Regions from separate parts of the Homo sapiens genome. Here all the other regions are linked to region 3. Evidence: promoter capture Hi-C in 16 types of primary human blood cells and fetal thymus (Javierre and others, 2016). All regions are on one chromosome and are shown on one strand. The core of a region is centred on a gene start or on the middle of the fragment in contact, and the rest is flanking DNA. Distances in the headings are between cores, read along the strand shown. Region 1 has its middle 7.1 kb from the start of TOB1-AS1. Region 2 overlaps WFIKKN2 (WAP, follistatin/kazal, immunoglobulin, kunitz and netrin domain containing 2). Region 3 holds the start of NME1 (NME/NM23 nucleoside diphosphate kinase 1).

The links. The method cuts DNA at HindIII sites, captures the fragments that hold promoters and counts their contacts. A CHiCAGO score of 5 or more calls a contact.
Region 1: a contact is called between a fragment that was not itself captured here and the fragment with the promoter of NME1 in region 3, in 8 of 17 cell types (monocytes, activated CD4 T cells, naive B cells and 5 more). The highest score is 8.6, in monocytes.
Region 2: a fragment that was not itself captured here is called in contact with the fragment with the promoter of NME1 in region 3 in 1 of 17 cell types (neutrophils); the score reaches 7.5 in neutrophils.

Annotation. Positions count from the first base shown.
Region 1 is chr17:50,872,080-50,875,545 of GRCh38, reverse strand. No RefSeq gene overlaps it. Among named protein-coding and RNA genes, the nearest start is that of TOB1-AS1, 7.1 kb to the right of the region's middle. The HindIII fragment of the contact is 2,783 bases long and covers 1-2,648 here.
Region 2 is chr17:50,837,254-50,841,005 of GRCh38, reverse strand. It overlaps WFIKKN2 (WAP, follistatin/kazal, immunoglobulin, kunitz and netrin domain containing 2), which reads right to left. Exons shown (of 2, transcript NM_175575.6): 2 at 1-1,507. Among named protein-coding and RNA genes, the nearest start is that of WFIKKN2, 3.5 kb to the right of the region's middle. The HindIII fragment of the contact is 3,731 bases long and covers 52-3,752 here.
Region 3 is chr17:51,151,636-51,155,013 of GRCh38, reverse strand. It overlaps NME1 (NME/NM23 nucleoside diphosphate kinase 1), which reads right to left and starts at 1,455. Exons shown (of 5, transcript NM_000269.3): 1 at 1,352-1,455. It overlaps NME1-NME2 (NME1-NME2 readthrough), which reads right to left and starts at 1,455. Exons shown (of 9, transcript NR_037149.2): 1 at 1,352-1,455; 2 at 570-789. RefSeq lists enhancers at 1,185-1,604, 1,388-1,919, 943-2,142. The HindIII fragment of the contact is 18,411 bases long and covers 170-3,378 here.

The sequences.
Region 1 (3,466 bases), core at 8-2,507, 280 kb after region 3:
TATCTGACAGAAGAGAGTGTTAATAATACTTGTTTGTAGTTTAAAAGCAATTTCACATGTATTTTTACTTGAGCTGAATCAAATGGTACTTGAATTTCTGCCAGATGTAAGAAGCAGAGAAGGAAGAGAAGGAGGAGAGGAGGAGGAGAAAGTAGGGAAGGAGGGGAAGAGGGAGGGGGAGAGGAAGGAAGAAAATATTCACATTTATGGGGGGCTTGACGGTTCATAGAGCGTTTTCACAGGTGTCACCTCAATTGATTCTCACACAACTCTGAGGGTAATTATTGCTTCTAATTATTTATAAGATGAGGGCTGAGACTCAGAGTAGCCATACCCAACTAATACCAGGTGGCAAGACCCAAACACAAATTCTCTAATTTTGAATTCATAATTTTTCTTCTCTGCTCCACTGCAGCTGAGATAGGAAGTGGGGGCCATGTTAGGATATCCAATGTTAATACAATGGGCAAAGTCTTAAAAGTCAAAAGGAAATATTTGAAGTAGTTATTAGTAAACAGTGTGAAATGTGACAGAAAGGTCAAGAAGACAGAGGCCTAAGTAAAAATGATTAGAACTGTTTTTGTTTGTTTGTTTGTTTTTGAGAAAAGGTCTTGCTCTGTCACCCAGGCTGGAGTGCTATGGAATGATCACTTGCCGCTTGGAACTCCTGGGCTCAAGGGATACTCCCACCTCAAACCTCCTTAGTAGCTGGGACTACGGGTGCTTGCCACTACACCCTACTAATATTTTTATTTTTTTTGTAGAGACAGGGGTCTCGCTATGTTGCCCAGGCTGGTCTCAACCTCATGGCCTCAAATGATCCTCTCTCCCATCTCAGCCTCCCAAAGTGCTAGGCTTATAGGTACCACTGTACCTGGCTTGCTTTTTTTTTTTTTTTAAGCATTTATGGATAACCCAGGAGTTAGTCAGGACCTTATAAAGTGAAACAGTAGATTGAAAAGCAAGGTTCTAGGCATCAAAATCACATGTTTAAAATGTTTGGGCAAGTTCTAGAGTGAGGTTTATGACCAGGATCCTCTTCAGCCACGTATCTGTACACAATATGCAAGATACTCATACAAATTGAAGCAAAACACAAAGACCTCTAAGAGAAACATGGAGAAAAGGCATAGATAAAAAATTTATAAAAACAGTAGTACAACGAGCTGACAAACATGTCAAACTCTATTCATCCTACATGTAATCAAAGAAATAAAAATTAAACAACAGATATCATTTTACCTACCAAATTAGCCAAGGATAGAAAAAAATTTTTTAGTAGGCAACGCTGGCTAAAAATGTAGTGATTTTGCAGTGCGTATCCTCTGGGAAGGTAAAAAAGTACAATCTCTCTGGAAGGTGGATTGTCATTATGTTACCAGCCTTAAAAAATATTCCTTCTCTTCCACTCGCTAAGTTTGCTTATAGAATCTAGCTCAGGGAAATAGAGAGGTAGCTAAAGATTTACATATAAAAATGCCTGTTAAATATGTTTGTTTTTAATACAGAAACATTTTCAACAACTTAGATGCCCAGCGATGGTTAAATAAATTATTCTAAATCCATAGAGTAGAATATAATATGCAGTCATTAAAAATGATGATTGTGACAAATGCTTAATGTCAGGAGAAAATAGGAAAAATGTAATGTTAAGTGAACTGCAGGATAGAAAATTGCGTGTGTGATAGAAACTCATTCAGAAAGAAATGGAGCAAGATGGTTAGCACTGCATGGAGAGATTAAAGATGATTGCTATTTTCTTCTTTATTTCTATGTGTTCCAAATTTGCTATAATGAGCATTTCCAGGTTTTATAATGAGAAAGAAGCCCTGATATTTTAGATTAGAGGAAAAATTTATTTTGGCTTTTTTGAAAATCAAGTTCAGGTTTCCTTAAAAGATGTAAAATTAGTGTTTTTGCTGGAAATACTTCAGCTGCAAGTCATGGAACACTTAATGTCGGTTAAAAAGTGGACCAGACCTAGGCAGTGACTAGCATTGGTGAGAACCCCTGTCCCTGTGATTAACTTGCGTTTTATTCATGGTTTATTCAGTAGGAGCTGCTGCAGCTCCTGCCATGAGATCCATGTTCAAGGCAGGAAGAAGAGAGAAGTGACCCAGTGGTGATTTTTAAAAATGGCCTCAAATTCTTTGACACTCCTCCATGAGAGGTGGTGGTTATGTCCCCTCCCCTTGAATCTGGCTGGTGGTTACTTTGACCATTAGGGTGTAATGGAAGTGGTGCATTGTGACTTATGAGACTGGGTCATAAAAGGCCATGCAGCTTCCTTGGTGGCAGCTTCCATGGTGGCAGCTTCCATGGTGGCCAGGCATGGTAGCTCATGCCTGTAATCCCACTGCTTTGGGAGGCCAAGGCAGGAGGATTGTTTGAGGCCAGGAGTTTGAGACCAGCCTGGGCAACACAGCAAGACCCTATCTCTAGAAAAAACTTGAAAAAAATGGTTTTAATTTTTAAAAAGTTCACTCTCCAGAAACTGCTCTGCTTCCTCTCAACTGCCACGCTGTAAGAAGCCCAAACCACAGGGGAAATTCAGAGGCCATGTGGAAACGCTCCAAACAACAGTGCCAACTAAGCCCAGCCCTTGAGTCACTGCAGCCCAGGTGCTAGACATGTGCTTTGAAAAAGCTTCCAGGTCCATGCTGTCCAATTCAGAAGCTGCTGTCCACATGTGATTATTTAAATCTAAATTTCATTAAAACTAAATTAAAGTAAAAATTCAGTTCCTCAGTCACACTGGCCACATTTCAAGTGCTCAAGAGCCGCATGTGGCTATTATATTTGACAGCACGGATATGGCATATTCCCATCACTGGAGGAAGTTCTGTTAGACCTGCTTCAGATGATACTTGAGCATTTGAGCCTTTCCAGCTGAGGTTCCAGACACTATGGAGCAGTGATAAGCTATCCATCCCCTTGTGCCCTGTCTGAATTTTTTTTTTTTTTTAAGACGGAATCTCTCTCTGTCACCCAGGCTGGAGTGCAGTGATGCTATCTTGGCTCACTGCAACCTTTGCCTCCTGGGTTCAAGTCATTCTCCTGCCTCAGCTTCCTGAGTAGCTGGGATTACAGGCACAAACCACCATGCCTGGCTAATTTTTTTGTATTTTTAGTAGAGAGGGGGTTTTGCTATGTTGGCCAGGCTGGTCTCGAACTCCTAACCTCAAGTGGTCCGCCCTCCTTGGCCTCCCAAAGTGCTGGGATTACAGGTGTGAGCCACCAGGCCAAGCCTGAATTTCTTACCTACAGGATCCAAGGGTATAATAAAATTGACCTTTTGTGCCACAGTAAATGCGTGTTTTGGATAGTTTTTCATGCAGCAATAGTAACTAGAACAAACCTCTCTGATAGGAAAAGCATAGCACCCTCAGAAACCATCCCAGCTGACTTCTGTTTACATCTTATCTGCAGAACAGTGTCACAGTGCCACCTCTACTGCAATGAAGCC
Region 2 (3,752 bases), core at 668-3,167, 310 kb after region 3:
GAAACTCCTTGAGGACGTCACAGGTCTTCTTGTGCATGACCTCACGAAGCTTCCTGACCCGGCGGGCACTCGATGCGCCCACAAAGCTATCGGGGCGCAGCATGGCCATGCCGCCGTCCACCTCCCCCATGATGATGAGCGGCATCTCGCTCACGGTCACGTTGGGGCAGGGGCATGCCCAGTCCACGTGAAGCAGAGTGACCTCCAATGGCTCCTGGCCCAGGAACTTGAGGCCCATTTTCTCATCCTTTAGGACCTCATCCACAGTCACCAGGGCGCGGCCCGAGTCAGGCTCCTCGGTCAGCTCAGAGACTCGGCCCAGGATGACAAAGTCGCTGCGACAGAAGCTGGTAACGAGCTTCTGCCGAGGCTTGCAGGCCCGACAGCGCTGGTTCCCCCTGGGGAAGGGGCACGACTCCTCACAGGCCTCACGGCTCTCAAAGTTGTTGCCATTGCCCTCGCAGCCACCATAGACAAAGGACTGGCACTGGCCCGTCTGGCTGTTGTAAGCCCAGCGAGGCGCGTAGGCTTTGCAGGGCCCCTGCAGGGCGGGCAGGCTGCACGCGGCCAGCGGCCCGCTCATGCAGGCCAGCATGCAGGCCTCATAGGTCTCAAAGTGGTTGAGGTTACGGTGGCAGTGGCCGAAGGTGAAGGTCAGGCAGTTGTTGGCCTGGGCATCGAAGTGCCAGCGGGTCTGCTCTTCGCCACAGTCCTCACTGTCTGGGGGCTTCAGGCACTCGGCCGCCGGGAAAGCCGTGCCATTGGGGCTGCTCTCTGAGGTGGCTGCAGCCTGATGACCCCTGACCACCGACAGCGGGAAATCAGCCCTCAGGACCCCAGCCACGTTCCGGGCCGTGCAGGTGTAGATCCCAGCATCCTGCAGCTGGGCGTTATAGATGACCAGCTGGGCAATGTTGGTGACCACCACGTTGCCACGCACATGGTTGGGCCGCATGACCACATTCTCCCGATCCTCCAACTGCTTCTCCCAGGTGATCTCAGGCCGGGGCCGGCCCACCACATCACAGAGGAAGCTCACTGTCTCACCCATGGTGACCGACTGGTGCACAGGGTTGTTGAGCAGCGCAGGGGCCGCCATGTCCAGCTCAGGGGTCTCTGGGGAGGCTGTGGTGGGGTGCATGGTGGTCTCAGGTGGTGGGGGGCTGGTGTTGGGCCAGGTGAAGTGATAGCGGCAGGTTACAACGGCCAGTGTGATGCCTTTGGAGCAGGCCTCGGCATCCATGTAGCAGCGGTTATAGTAGGTGAGGCCGTCCGAGGCGCAGGTAAAGCTGGGCTCCTTCTCACAGCGGTCTTTGCACTTACACACGGGCTGGCCATCCCAGATGTCACACTCAGAGCCCTGCTGCAGACACATGAAGTGGTCACATGTGGCCTCCTTGGGCATGCCCACTGGGCCCTTCTTCCCTTTCACGTCCATGTAGCGGGCCGCCACGCAGCTCTTGGTCCCACATACGTTGGGGCAGCACTTCTCATAGGTCTCACACTCCTGAAAGAGCCAGAGAGAGTGGCCTGAACAGGGAGAAGGAGGAAAGGAGGGGCTCCCTATCCTACCCCATGGTTTGTGGGGAGGAGAACTAACATGTACTCACCATCTAGTGGGAGCAAAACACTTGAAAATAATAACGAATGCATACGTAGCATCTCCTACATGCTAGGCCCCTGTGTAAGAACTTTGACATCTGTGAGCTTGCTATGCTCATCACAAGCCAGAGGTGGGTATAGCCATTATCTCCACTCCACAGATGATGACTGAGGCACAGAGAGGCTAAGTAACTTTCCCAAGGTCACTCAGCTAGCAGGGTAGGAAGGGGTGGGCCAAAGACTCTAAGAGGAAAAGTTTTCCTACAACCATTTTACAGATGAGACTGCAGAGACTCAGAGAGGTGATGCCCAAGTTCACAGAGACGGGAAGTGGCAGAACAAGGCTCCAAGCTCCCAGTGGAAGGGATTGAGAAATGGAGTTTTTTCTCCTGCATCATATAGCACAAATGAGGTCTAGCTTGAACAAGTAGGCCTGCCTTTCATCTCTTTCCTATGGGAGTGAGGATGCCTTGCTGACTGGAAGAGATCGCATCAGAGGTTAAGAGGGGAATGCCCCTGGGACTTTATCCGAGATGATCCACACCTCTCCTCCCCTCAAGGAGACCGACACACACGGGGAACAGAGGCTGTGAGAGGGCCCAGATCGATCCACAGCCAACAGTCAGGGCAGGCGTGACGGGCCCCACACGCCAGGTCTCAGAGCCACAGGCTGTGCCAGGCCCAGGTATCAGCTCCGTGTGGGACCTTTCACGGGAAAAGCAACAAGAAAAAAAGTCCCCTTGTGTGGCAAAGGTCAGCAAGGCCGTCAGCGAGGACTTGCCAGGCTGTAATCCCCTCTGATATTCTGTGGAGCCACGTAAAGCATTAGTTTAATTCCTCGAAATTAGCAACATGCTCCTGGAGCTGACACAAACAAGGATTTCACGTGGTGTTTTCGACAATAACACATCGTACCCACTTGGCAGGCAGGCAACGCTCCTAATCCTCCACCAGGTAGTAACTCTGTGAATTACTCCCCACTAGGGCTGGCCTCTTGTCATTCCAACTTTTATTTCAGCCTCTTTGACATTCCACATCAGCTAAGAGGGGGAAAATATCCCCCCACCCTGGCTGCATGGAGCCTGCCTGCTTGACTTGTTTACTGTTCTACCCGTTTCGGCTCAGAATGGGGACTTTGTTTTGCAGCCCTTGTTTGGCATAGTCTTCTAGGCCACACCAGGGGAGGCTTTGGGACAGGGATGGGCAGCTCTCAGAGCTGGGTCTAAGGGAGAGAGACCCCGCAGGGAATGGAGAGCAGGAGAGGGAGTAGGAGCAGGAGAACCTTCTCCTTGGCCTGAGCCTCATCCCATTCCCTAAGACATTCAGGACCTGGAGGTCCATGAAAGCCTGGGTCCTTGGGCACCAGAGGGAAGGTACTTCTGGCCACAGGGAACCTACAGGGGGTCCTTAGAACACTTCTGTGTAAGGGGGCCAGAATGTCCCCAAGGGCTGTCTGGATACCCAGCCTTCCACAGGTGCCTTCTCTCCAAGACACACAAAATCCACCAGAGTCTCACCATCCCCAAGCCCTACCTGGTTAATCAGGCCAGCCTGTGCCTGCAAATGTAGCCAACTAATGGCATGACCTTGGCCAGATGGGAGCAGCCACCACTCCTCCTGACTTCTTATCTTCCTTTCACTTGGCACCACCATTGCCCAAGGGGAGCATCTGTCCTGGGAGGCCTAAGAATTGTCCCTGGGCACTGTGAGGTTGAGGCCACCCTCTCCAGGTCAGCCCTCTGCTCTCCTGTGGGTAACCAGGCATCTATGGGGGAACCAGTGTCTCTCGTGTTCCCTGGGGATGCCCCAGCCTGGATCTGGAGCCTTGGGAGACTCCGTGCTGCCCTCAGAGCTGGCCAGACTGGGCAGGAAATAGCTCTGCCTGGAGCAGGTGTAGGTCCCACAGCCTGTTGCCCCAGAGGGGGTGGGCAGGAATGGCCCTCGGGAATGACTCGGGAGCTAGAAGAGAACTGGCCCTGCCCTGCAGCAGTGCCCTCTGATACAGAGCAGAAGGCAGGACCAAGGACGCTGGGAGGCTGAAACGTGGTCTCCTTCCTCCCAGGGACACCAGAGATCCATTCAGAGCTGCTCCTGCTTGGCCTGCCGTCAGCCTGGTCTTCTCTCAGGCTCAGGGTCCAAACTCCTGAGGA
Region 3 (3,378 bases), core at 206-2,705:
CCCACCTCAGCCTCCCAAAGTGCTGGGATTAAAGGCGTGAGCCCCATGAGCCTGGCCACCATTTGATTTAATAAGCTTCTTTTAAACATCTACTGTGTACCAAACACTGCGGTGGAACTAGGATACAGGATGTTAAAAACAAGGCACTATCTTTCTCAATAATCAAGCTTGGGAGAAACTACACTGATGAAAAGTTTTACTAATGTGAAAGTGATGTCCGGTACAAAGCAGTAAGAAATAATAGTTTGACTTAATGCCACAGCCATAGCATTAGGGGTTTTAGAGAATATATCTTTACAACCCCCTTCATTTTACAAATGAGGAAACAGGACCACAGCACCAGAATGAAGGCCAAAACCCAGCATTCCCAACCCATTAATCCATTCTTGTAATGTTATGCTACACTTTACAATGCAAAGAATATTTTGACTAGCCAATAAACGGTGGGGTGTGGGAGAACTACAGACATTAGGAATATCTGATACGGGACATCATACTGAAAGGAAGCCTAGAGAGTAACTATTCCGTCCAGATCCCTCATTTTACAGAAGACTGCGCTCATGACCTACCCTGTATCACAGCTTGAGATAGGAGGCCCCTCGCCTTGAAAGACGATCCCTAAAGTAGACAGTAGCACCATCTCTTGGCCCCATCTTCCTGTCCTTTAGTTAACCTCTTCTTACAGCATCTTAGCACTGTAGTCCAATTTTCTGTTTGTGTGTCTGCCTCCCCTGCACACCAGGCTGACTTAGTCCTGTGTAGAGACTCTATGGTACCTAGCCACAGGGCCTAGCAGTCAATAGGAGCAAAGAAAATCATTTATCACCATTCTGCAACTTCCAAAAAAAAAAAAAGAGAGAGAGACAAAGCCCAAAGACTGCGGAGAATCGCACGATGGGGTGCGGGGCAAGCATAAATTGTCCAGGAGAAAACAGGACTAAAGCGCCAGAAATACACCCTAAAAATGTCCCTCCACATCGGTCCCGGTGACACAACAGTAAGCACTCAGTGCTTGCTGAATGAATGACACACACACCCGTCATTTATTCAGCAAGCACTTACAGAGCGCCAACTCCGTGCCCGGCACTGCTCTCGACAGACACAAATAAGGCACAGCCCTGTCGTCGCGGCCTGACGAGAAAGGCGGCCACCGACAAAGGCGAGTCCACGTGGCGTGGGACGTGCGCCGACCGGTCTGCACTTGTCCACAGGCGCTCCCTGCCCCTCCTCCCATCCGATCCTCCTCGCCGCCTCTTAGAGCTGAACTCATCTCTTCACTAACTCCTCACCTAACCCACTCCCGCGACTACACTCCTTTCTTTTTCCTCTCAGGATCCCGAACACCTCTTACCCTTCCAGCTGCTTAGGTTTGAACTCCGGCTGCAGCCGCCAGCACCCGAAACGCGCCCGGGACCCACGTGGTTCGCAGCACTTGCACGCACGGAACGCTTCTGCGCAGATCCGCTGCCGGAGAGCCCATTTTGCAGAACACCGCTCGCCCACGCTTCCTCTTGGGAGTAGGCAGTCATTCTAGGGAACAACTTTCTGCAGTTTAACTTCCGGCGCTAGCTTTTTCAGACCTTTCCGGTTAGCTGCTTGCTTTCTTCTCTCCACCCCCGGGTTCTCTGACTCACTTCCTTCGTTCGCGAGCAAATTGGCTTCCCGAGAGGTGGCGCTCACACGTTGCGTGAAGTCCAAAGAGTGCCTGACCTAGAAGTAGACTTTTCGCTCCCGCTTTGTGTTTATTCACCTTTTCTAGCCTGTCAAGCAAAAAATTTTGAGTACCTACTACGTGGACGCATTATTCTAGGCCCTAGGGATAAAACAGTATGCTCTCTTGGAGCTTCTGGGAGGGATGGGAGTATAGGAAAACAAGAAGCAAATAAGCAAATTAATATGTAATAGATCGCATTTTGTAAGTGCTGTGAAGAAAAGGCCAGAGAAATCTCTGAGTAAGTGATAATAGAATAGACCTGCATGAAGTGAGGGAGCCAGCCCAGTGATTCTTCGAGAGCCAAGTATTACGGTGGACATCGAGTGGTGGAAAATGCCGTTAGAATAGAGCCAAATCTTATGTTGTGAGATGCTAATACAGATTTTGCACAAGGCATGACATCATCACTAACAAAAAAACATTCCCACTGCTCTAAGGGGAAATGAACGGGGGAAAGGTACAAAAATGGAATCAGGAGCCGTTTCAACAAATGATGCTGGAGCAATTGGACGAATATAGACCCAAAGAACCTCAACCTAAACCTCTCACCTTATACAAAATTTACTCAAAATGAATCATAGATTTAAATGTAAAACAATAAATCACTTATGGGGAAAAAAAAAGTTAAAAAAAATCCTCAGGACCTAGGGCCAGGCAAATAGTTTTTAGACGACACCAAAAGACCAATCTATACAGGGAAAAAGTTGATAAATTGGAACTTACTGAAATTTAAAACTTTTGGCCGAGCGCGGTGGCTCACGCCTGTAATCCCAGCACGCTGGAAAGCAGCGGCGGGAGGATCACTTGAGCTCAGGAATTCGAGACCAGCCCGGGCAACATAGTGAAACCCCGTCTCTACTAAACATACAAAAATGAGCCGGGCGTGGTTGCAGGCGCCTGTAGTCCCAGCTACTCGGGAGGCTGAGGCAGGAGAATCGCTTGAACCCGGGAGGCAGAGGTTGCAGTGAGCCGAGATTGCGCCAGGGCACTCCAGCCTGGGTGACAGAGCGAGACTCGGTCTCAAAAAAATAAAAAATAAATAAAATAAATAAGTAAAATTTCATTATTCTCCTGTTTTCTTTTTTTTCTTTTTGAGACCGAGTATCGCTTTGGCGCCCAGGCCGGAGCGCAGTTGCACGATGTCGGTTCATTGCAAACTCCGCCATCCGGGTTCAAGCGATTCTCGTGACTCAGCTTCCCGCGTAGCTGGGACTACAGGCGTCTGCCACCACGCCCGGTATTTTCTTTTTCTTTTTTTTTTTTTTTTTTTGAGACGGAGCCTTGCCAGGTCGCCCAGGGTGGAGTGCAGTGGTGCGATCTCGGCTCACTGCAACCTCCGCCTCCCGGGTTCAAGCGAATCTCCTGCCCCAGCCTCCCGAGCAGCTGGGATTACAGGTGCCCACCACCACACCCGGCTACTTTTTGTATTTTTAGGAGAGACGGGGTTTCACCATGTTGGCCAGGTTGGTCTCAAACTCTTGACCTCGTGATCCGCCCGCCTCAGCCTCCCAAAGTGCTGAGATTACAGGCATGAGCCACCGCGCCTGGCCCTAATTTTTGTATTTTTAGTAGAGACGGGTTTTCACTATGCTGGCCAGGCTGGTATCGAACTCCTGACCTCAAGTGTTCCATCTGCCTCGGCCTACCAAAGTGCAGGGATTACA